2 separate regions of the Homo sapiens genome follow, and region 2 is linked to region 1. The links are contacts of gene promoters, found by promoter capture Hi-C in human tissues and cell types (Jung and others, 2019). All regions are on one chromosome and are shown on one strand. The core of a region is centred on a gene start or on the middle of the fragment in contact, and the rest is flanking DNA. Distances in the headings are between cores, read along the strand shown.

Region 1 (4,875 bases), core at 351-2,850:
AGTCTTCCAAGCATGAACTTGCACAGGCTGCCAAGGGAGCCATAGCTGCTGCCTTTTTAGCTTGTGTTATGCAAAAGATTTTATTTTATCCTTTTAAAAATTCCCTTGCAAATGACCTTTGTAACATCCCCTAAAATCACACGCATGTGCCTTTACCCATCACCTATATCCAGATTTGCAGCCACACTCAGGGCCAGACCAGCAGGTGTGCTGTTGAAAGCAGCTGGCTAGGAGCCAGCTCTACAGCATCCCAAATCAGCAATAGTCCCAGAGGATCGGTGGTCCCTTTGTTCCCACCCAGAGTCACAACATACCATGGAATGTTCTGGTTAGGGGCTTACTCCTGGAAGTTCAGCTGTGAACCCCAACTATGCCACTGACTTTGGTCTTTAGGTGAGTCACTAAACCTCTTTGTGACTCAGTCTCTTCATCTGTAAAATGGAGAATTACAGTCCCTTCCTACTGAGGCTGTTGTAAAAATTACCTTAAATTGCAAAACAGGTAGACGCTTAGAACAGTGCTGCACAAAGGCTGTGCAGACAGGACAGGAGCTGTGATTAACTATGAAGTGACTGGTTGATGAGGGCCTGTGTGAACCTAACCCTCAGAGCGCCTTTCCATTTATAGGAGAAAAAGCTTAAGTCAGAGAAGGCAGCCAACATGCACTGGCACAAACAAAACAAACTCTTTCATAACCAATTTCAGCCTCTGTGAAGTCTAGAACTTTAACCAAACTCAAAGATCAAAACAAAAAATATTCCAAAGTATTACTGATTGAGCAATCAATAAATGGACCACAGGAATCAGTTTTATCCTGGAAAGCTCCTCCTTGGTTTGGTCGAAGCCGGCGTTGGAAGCCGCAGACACCCCTTGGGGTCGGCCCCCTGGGGCCGAAGGTCCTCCAGGATTCCCTACTCCCAGCAATGGAAGCAGCCGAGCGTGGCCTCGCCCATGGTGAACTGGAGAACGTGGCTGCAAATCACCTCTTTCCTGGTTTTTCCTTTTGAACTCCTTGGATGAGGGCATGAGTCAGGGGGTAAAGGGGATGACTAAGGAAAAGACAGGAAAGTTCCTGCAAAGAGGGACTTGGTCGCGTCTTCTGAGTGGGTGAGGGTGGGGACCCTGCGGAGACCCGAAAGCAAGGACCATGGGGAGAACGGAACCCCGAGAGTTGGCCCTGGAAAACAGACCGAGGCTGGGCGAAGACGGAGAGGGGGCCCAAGTCACGGGGAAATGGGACGGGGACTGTCAGAGGCGGCGAAGGGGCTAAAATGCTTGCAGGAGAGGAGGGGGCAGATGTGCTTCCAGGTCAGCCTCTGCAAACCCCTCGAGCCCCAGATGAGTACACTAAGGCCCACGGCGGCGCGGGGCCTTCCTAGGGGCCTGCGGGGGACTCGGGCCGGAAAACAAAGCGCGAGCCCGGCCGGTGGGCTCACCTGGTTGCAGAAGACCTCGGGCTGCTGGTTGGGGGCAGGCACGGCCTGGGTGGCGGCGGCTGACAAGAGGCGGCGGCCCAGGCGGGGCCCGAAGCGGGCGGCAGCGCGCAACATCGCAGCGGGCTAGCGGACAGCGAGCGGACCGAGAGCAGAGCTAGGGTCTCAGGGCCACTGAGCCGACCCCGCTCCCCGCCCCGCGCGGCAGCCAATGGAAAGGCGGGGGCGGGCCGGGGGCGGGGCTGCCTCTACCATTCCTCGGGATGGGGCGCGCAGCTGATGCAAGCGAAGCGGGTGGCGCTAGGTACCCCCGGCCCGTGGCTGCCCCCTGGCTCGCGCGACGCCTCCGCGCCCGCCACCGCCCTCCGCCTGTGCGGAAAGACCCGGCCCCGCGAACGCAGCTCGCCTTGGTTGAGCCCCCAATGTGTGCCTTTGACCCCAATGTGAACAGGCCCGAGCCAGGGCGACCCTGACCTTCCCGGCTGATGCTCCAGGTGAAGAGACCGGCCGTAAACCCAAAAGCGAGATCATTTCGGAGGTGAAGGAGATGAACGAGGTGACATGGATGGGGCAGACGGCACTGCTTTTATAAGTACCATGGTCAGGAAATGACAAGTGAGACCTGAATGATGACAGGGAACAGCAAGGGCAAAGGCCAGGAGATGAGACCACCTGGCACGTGTTAGAGAAATGGAAAGAATGAATGGAGCCCAGTTAACAAGGAGAGAGGCGGCCAGGGCAAGGGCAGGGACGGTCTTGGAAGCAGCGGTTCAGAGTTTAGAACAGGATGATTTGCATGATTTGCTTATTCTTTTTTTTTTTTTTTTTTTTGAGACGGAGTCTCACTGTGTCGCCTAGGCTGGAGTGCAGTGGCACGATCTCGGCTCACTGCAAGCTCTGCCTCCCGGGTTCACACCAGTCTCCTGCCTCCGCCTCCGGAGTAGCTGGGACCACAGGCGCCTGCCACCACGCCCGGCTAATTTTTTGTATTTTCAGTAGAGACGGGGTTTCACCGTGTTAGCCAGGATGGTCTCGATCTCCTCACCTCATGATCCGCCTGCCTCGGCCTCCCAAAGTGCTGGGATTACAGGCGTGAGCCACCGCGCCCGGCGGTGGGACTCTGATTTCAACACCAGATTCCACCAAAGTCGCCCTGGGGGCTCAGCACCATTCCACACAAACCAGAGGAAGAAAAGGCATGGGGGTGGCCCATGGGAGGTTTCTGTGGGCTGAGCCTGCTCGCCTGGCTGGATTTCAATCACACAACCATGCCTCCATGCAAAAGAGTCTGGGAAATGAGTGGCCCCTGTGCCAGGAAGAAGGGAAATAGGTTTGGAGATCAGCTGCAGAGATAATCTGATAACCAAGACTCCCTTCCTTCTCTGAATTCAGCCATGCAGGCCCCACTTCCCCTTCCCAATGGCGCCTTGCTTTTTTTTTTTAGATGGGGTTTCACTCTTGTTGCCCAGGCTGGCACCATGTGGGCTCACTGCAACTTCCACCTCCCAGGTTCTAGCGATTCTCCTGTCTCAGCCTCCCAAGTGGCTGGGATTACAGGCGCATGCCACCACACTTGGTTAATTTTTGTATTTTTAGTAGAGATGGGGTTTCATCATATTGGTCAAGCTGGTCTCGAACTCCTGACCTTAGGTGATCCGCCCACCTCGGCCTCCCAAAGTTCTGGGATTACAGGCATGAGCCACCGTGCCAGGTACTTTTTTTCCCTTAATACTGTGTGTGGAGATCGTTTTGTCACAGCACACAAGGACTATGTCCCCATTCTCTTCAACAGTTTCATGGTATTCCTCTGGATACATGAGGTAGTTTTATTTCATGAATTTCCTATGATGGACATTTAGGTTGTTTCCAATCTTTTGCCACTACAAACAATGCCACAATGTATGCTCTTGATTTGCTTAAGAAATTAATAGAAATGAGGCTGGCACCATGACTCGTGCCTGTAATCTCAGCACTCTGGGGGGGAAGCTGAGGCGGGTAGATCACTTGAGGTGAGGAGTTCGAGACCAGCCTGGCCAACATGGTGAAACCCCATCTCTACTAAACACACACACACACACACACACACACACACACACACACACACACACACACACACAATTAGCCAGGAATGGTCGCAGTGCCTGTAATCCCAGCTACTCCAGAAGGTGAGGCAGGAGATTGCTTGAATCTGGGAGACAGAGGTTGCAGTGAGCCAAGAGCTGAGATCGTGCCACTGAACTCCAGCCTGGGTGATAGAGTGAGACTACGTCTCAAAAAAAAAAAAAAAAGAAAAAAAAAAAGAAAAAAAAAAGAAAGAAAAGAAAAGAAAGAAATTAGTAGAAATGGAACAAAGAATATTTACAATTTAAATACAGATATATTACCCTCCAAAGAAGTTTAATTTATGCCCCACTACCTGTCATGTCTGAGTTTCCTTACACCCTCACCAGTAGAAGTTTCAGGATTTTTTTTTTAGCTTTGCTAATCTGAGAGACGAAAAAGTGGCATTTCACTACCACATTAATTTGCTTCTCTTTTACGAGTGAGCTTGAGCATCTCTGCCTAGATGAAGTCATGCATGTTTCCTCTGCTATGAACTAGCTGCTCATGTCTCTGGCTCACTTTTCTATTGGATTGTTGGTCTTTCTGAAATTGATTTGTAGGTGCTTTATATGTATCCAGGCAATTAACATTTTGTCTATCATATATGGCACAAATACATCCTGCCAGTCATCTTTTTACTACTAAGTAACTGTAAGTAGCTATTTCTGAACTACTGTATATTCTGTGTCATTGATCTCTGTATGCGTGTGCCAGTATGACACTGTTTTCATCACTGTAGCTTTCTAAGTCTTCTTGTTTTTTTTCCCCAAGACCAGGGTCTCGCTGTCACCCAGGCTGGAGTGCAGTAGCACAATCACAACTCGCTGCAGCCTCGACCTCCCAGGCTCAATTGATCCTCCCACCTCAGCCTCCTGAGTAGTTGTGATTACAGGTGCATGCCACCATGCCTGACTGATATGGTTTCACTGCGTCCCTACCCAAATCTCATCTAGAATTGTAACTCCCACAATTCCCACATGTTATGGGAAGAACCTGGTGGGAGGTGACTGAATTATGGGGGCAGGTCTTTACTGCACTGTTCTTTTGATAGTGAATGAGTCTCACGAGATCTGATGGTTTTAAAAACGGGAGTTTCCCTGCACAAGCTCTTTTTCTGCCTGCGGCCATTTATGTAAGACGTGACTTGCTCCTCCTTGCCTTCTGCCGTGATTGTGAGGCCTCCCCAGCTATGTGGAACTATAAGTCCATTAAACTTCTTTTCTTTTTTTTTTTTTTTGAGACACAGTCTAGCTCTGTCACTCAGGCTGCAGTGCAGTGGTGCTATCTTGGCTCACTGCAAACTCCGCCTCCCAGATTCAAGCGATTCTCCTTCCTCAGC
Region 2 (4,688 bases), core at 21-2,520, 230 kb before region 1:
GTATCCAGATTTTTGTGATAAGCATTTTTTTACTCTTATGTACGGTTTACCAGAAATGTATGTATGTTTAAACAATTTGGTTTTGCTTGTTTTTGAACTTGATATAATTGGAATAATGCTATATGTATTTTTGTACGTATTGTTTTATGAATTGCTTTTATCCCTCAATATTATTTGTGAGATGTATCCACGTTGTATAGAGCATGAGTTCATTTCATTTTCATTGATGTCTGGTATTCTGTAGTATGAATATACTAAAATTTATTTACCTGCTTATGCTGCTATAAGCATTCTTGTACATGTTTTCTTGTACATAAGCATTATTGTATAAGCATTCTTGTACATTATGCTGCTATAAGCATTCTTGTACATGTTTTCTGGTGCGCAAATGCATAAGCTTATCTAGTATATTTGCCCAATATCAGAATTGTCATAGGATTTCCACTGCCCCTAAATTAATGTCAAACTCTTTTCCAACTGGTTGTGCCAGCAGTGTATAAAGTGTCCTGTTGCTTTTTGTTCCCGTTAATACTTGCTGTTATCAGACTTAAAATTTTTGCCATGGGTGTGTAATTATTTTCTTATTGTGGTTTTAATTTTTCATTTCCTTTATTACTAATAAAGTAGGGCATATTTGCATATGTTTATGGCCATTTGGATTTCCTCTTTTGTTAAATATTTTTGCCTGTTTTTCTGTTGAGTTTTTCTTACTACTTAGTAATTTTTTTAAAACACAGTTTGGATCCTTTGTCAGTTATATGTGTTACAAATATCTTCTATTTTGTGGTATGTCTTTTTACTTTCTTTATGGTGTCTTGACACAGACTCAATTTTTCATTTTAATGTGGTTGATTTTTTTCATTATTTCTTTTAGTACTTTTTGTGTTTTGTTTAGGAAAATTTTCCCTAAACAAAAATTGAAGACATTCTCCTATAGAATGTAAAAAAAAGGTTTACAGTTTTTGTCCTTTCACATTTAGGTCTTTAAACTACTTGGAATAGATTTTTTTTTTTTTTTTTTTTTTTGAGACAGGGTCTTGTTCTGTTTCCCTGGCTGAAGTGCAGTGATGCAATCATGGCTCACTGCAGCCTTGACCTCCTGGGCTCAAGTGATCCTCCTGCCTCAGACTCCCAAGTAGCTGAGACCACAAGTGTGTGTCACCATGCCCAGCTAATTTTTTTATTTTTTATTTTATTTGTAGAGATGGAGTCTCACCATGTTTCCCAGTCTGGTCTTGAACTCCTGGGCTCAAGCAGTCCTCCTGCCTCGGCCTCCCAAAATGTTAGGATTATAGTCATATAGTCACTGAGCCTGACCTAGAACTGATTAGATGGAGTCTCACTCTGTCGCTCAGGCTGGAGTGCAGTGGCATGATCTCGGCTCACTGCAACCTCCGCCTCCTGGGTTCAAATGATTCTCCTGCCTCAGCCTCCTGAGTAGCTGGAATTACAGGCGCCCGCCACCATGCCCAGCTAATTTTTGTATTTTTAGTAGAGATGGGGTTTCACTATGTTGGCCAGGCTGGTTTTGAGCTCCTGACCTCAGGTGATCTGCCCACCTCCCAAAGTGCAGAGATTACAGACGTGAGCCACCATGCCCGTCCTAGAACTGATTTTTTGAGTGTAGTGTGAGATACAAAGTAGGGGCCTAATTTCATTTTTTTTTCCTGTATGGATACCCAATTGTTCTAGCTTCATATTTTGAAAAGACTGTCTCTTTTCCACTGATTGAAAAAGCCACTTATGTCATACATCAGAGATCTATATATATATTGCTGGGTTTAATTTGGGCTATTTTCATTTTATTCACCTATTTGTCCATCCCTGTACTAGTACCACAGTATCTTCACTCTAGGTCTATGTTAGTTTTTGTAGGGAGACCTCCTGAAACTATTGCTATGGAATAAAAGATGAAATGCTCCTGATTATTGTAAATACAAAATTGCATGCAGGATTTTGTAAAGACAATGCAAGGTTTGGCTGCCAGAATGAGCCAACAGTGCGTGATGTGCTTCTCCCTGCAGAGAGCCTATAAACGGACGTGCAGTCAGGGAGGTTTCACATCACCAAGATTACTATCCCAGAAAAGCAGATGTTCATAGCTCTGGGAATGCAATGCAACCCTTGTGGAGAGCCTATAAATAGACACATGAGGGGCGCTTGTTCATATGGATAAGATAGGGTTATAAACGCCCTTATCTTGCCACGGCTTTTCTGGGTCTCTTTAGGGTTAAGGCATACTCCCTTCTGAGAATTTGTGGTCTAACCGGTTGTTTCACATCCTGTTTCTGTTGATTGTTTGCAACCAGCTTTTGCTGCAAATATTACTGCTGATTAGTATCTTACTAAACATAGGTTATGGATAGACTGTGTTTCTGTTTTAAGGCTCTGTTAGAAATTGCTGACACACACACTATGTTGTAAATTCTTATCTCTGTATACTGTACTTATGCATACCGATGTTACATTAAAGAATTACTTCATCCCCATGTGATCATCTCACCTCATAATCAAATGACCCCCTAAATCCCTCACTAACCTACCCCCGCCCTCACTAAACTTAATAATAAATGCCAGTATATCCAGTGCATTGGCGGCATCACAGGACCAGAAGGCGGTGACGCCCTGGACCCAGCTTTCACTATTTTGTGTGTGTCTTTTATTTCTCGACCTGCCGATCCACCTGGGAACAAAGAAAGAGCCCCGTTGCATTGCGGGCTGCTGGCCAGATCCCACGATAAGTCTTAAGATGAGGTGGGGCAAGTTCTTCTTTTTTTTTCAAGAGTGTCTTGGTTATCTTAATATTTTATATTTCTTTCTTTTTTTCCTGAAGAGTTGGGTTTATTTCAATAGTAAATTTGAAACTCTTGACTTAAGTGAAAGTACTCTAGTAATTATATCAGGAATAGACAATTTCCTACACTGTCAAATATATGAAAGTTCCTTTTGTACGTTCTTCAACACTGATCAACAAGCAGTTTCAGTCCACATTTGCTTTGATCTGTCACTGAGTTAACCCAAGCTGCTTCTTCAGAGATTCTGGCATCTTGGGGGAGGGCAAGGGAGGCTGAAGTAGACCTTCACAGAATCATAGATAAACTACTGTAGTGCAGTCAGAGTACCAGTCATAATGATACAGACAAACATTCCCTTCCATACACCTTTAAATCCAAGTCTCTGGAGGACTTGAGAAGCACTGCTACCTTTTTCTTTATTCAACACAGATACCACAGAATCATCAGGGTGAGAAACAATTGCACAAAACACTCCAGGTATGTAACCTGCTACAAATGTTACAACCAGCTCCTCTGTCTTTGAACATTCACCACAGGGCTTCCGAACCACAAACTTGTACAATGCTTCAACAGTACCTTAAAAGCAGGCAAACTTCATCATGGCATATGCTATCTGTCTCATCCAGAGAGGAGCAACCCCTTTGTAGAATGTTTTTAGGCCTTCTTCCTTATACATCTTGGGAGCTGCATCCCTCAAAGTCTTGGTCTAACCTGGTTGGGTTTGAATTTGAACCTTAGCAGCTTCCATAGGGCAATTACAGCAAAGAATTCAGCACTGGCAGAGGCAGCCAAATACAGTGATGTGCACCAGAGATAACATGCTCTGGGAGTATGTTGCTATACAAGACTTTAAAGACTTCATAAAAGCCAAACTTGCAGAACACCTGCATGGAGTGGCCAATGAAAGTCAGAGCCTGTCCTTTAGCCAAAGAATGAACACCATCCTCCTTAAGTGTAACTGAGAATCCATTAAATATGCCCTTCTACTTTTGGGGGTCCACCTGCATACAGCATTTCACTAAACCCAGGGGAATGACCGCAGTGTGTGTCAGACCACAACCTAAGACCCCACGAGAGCCACACAATGCATAATACTTCGTGGAGTCAAATTCACAACTGTACTTTTATAAGGCAGCAGCTGCCAGGTTAAGAGAGCAGTGGGGGGGCCTTGCGGGTCTTGTGGGACCGCTGTGGAGGTCCGTGAGGCCATCGTCCACCAGCTGCAGGTGTGGCACATTGAAGGAGTTCACCCATGCCAGGTGTGCCATGGATGAGAGCTTCTCCCTAAGATGGCAAACACCCCACTGTTACTCCCTTGGATTGTGGCTCACAGGGTGATATTTTGTACTTCCACATCAGATTCAGAGTCAGCTTGTCAAGTTCCACAGGAAAATAGGTTGAGATTTCATTGAGATTGCATTTAATCTTTAGGAGTCCCTCAATAAATGGTTTATAATTTTCTCCATAGGACCAAAACTATTTTTAGATAAGTGGGAATGGGGATGCCAAAAGGAGAAGAATAAGAAGAGACAAATTTCACCAGTGTGGTCAGAAACCGAAAGGCAACACATACAGTTCATTCTGACATTTTTCAGTATTACTGACTTTTTACCCTGACTTTTTATTACTGTAAACGTTTTCATTTTCTTTAAGTCCTCAGCCACATCCCTAAACACTTAGCAGAATACCTCATTTCTTATATTTAGAAGATGTTTGGCTCATGCCTGTGATCCCAGCACTTTGGGAGGCCGAGGAGGGTGGATCACAAGGTCAGGAGATCGAGACCGTCCTGGCTAACACGGTGAAACCCCATCTCTACTAAAAATACAAAAAATTAGCCAGGCGTGGTGCTGGGCGCCTGTAGTCCCAGCTACTTGAGAGGCTGAGGCAGGA

The links. Contacts are between HindIII fragments. The study calls those that stand out against the background at their distance.
Region 2: a fragment that was not itself captured here is called in contact with the fragment with the promoter of ALDH2 in region 1 in 1 of the 25 tissues and cell types used here (IMR-90 fibroblasts).

What each region holds. Positions count from the first base shown.
Region 1 is chr12:111,763,658-111,768,532 of GRCh38, reverse strand. It overlaps ALDH2 (aldehyde dehydrogenase 2 family member), which reads right to left and starts at 1,600. Exons shown (of 13, transcript NM_000690.4): 1 at 1,437-1,600. The coding sequence starts at 1,550. RefSeq lists a silencer at 1,593-1,912 and an enhancer at 1,372-2,141. The HindIII fragment of the contact is 11,183 bases long and covers 1-4,875 here.
Region 2 is chr12:111,992,378-111,997,065 of GRCh38, reverse strand. The region is part of intron 3 of TMEM116 (transmembrane protein 116); the gene reads left to right. It also overlaps the pseudogene SLC25A3P2. Among named protein-coding and RNA genes, the nearest start is that of TMEM116, 18 kb to the left of the region's middle. The HindIII fragment of the contact is 7,954 bases long and covers 1-4,688 here.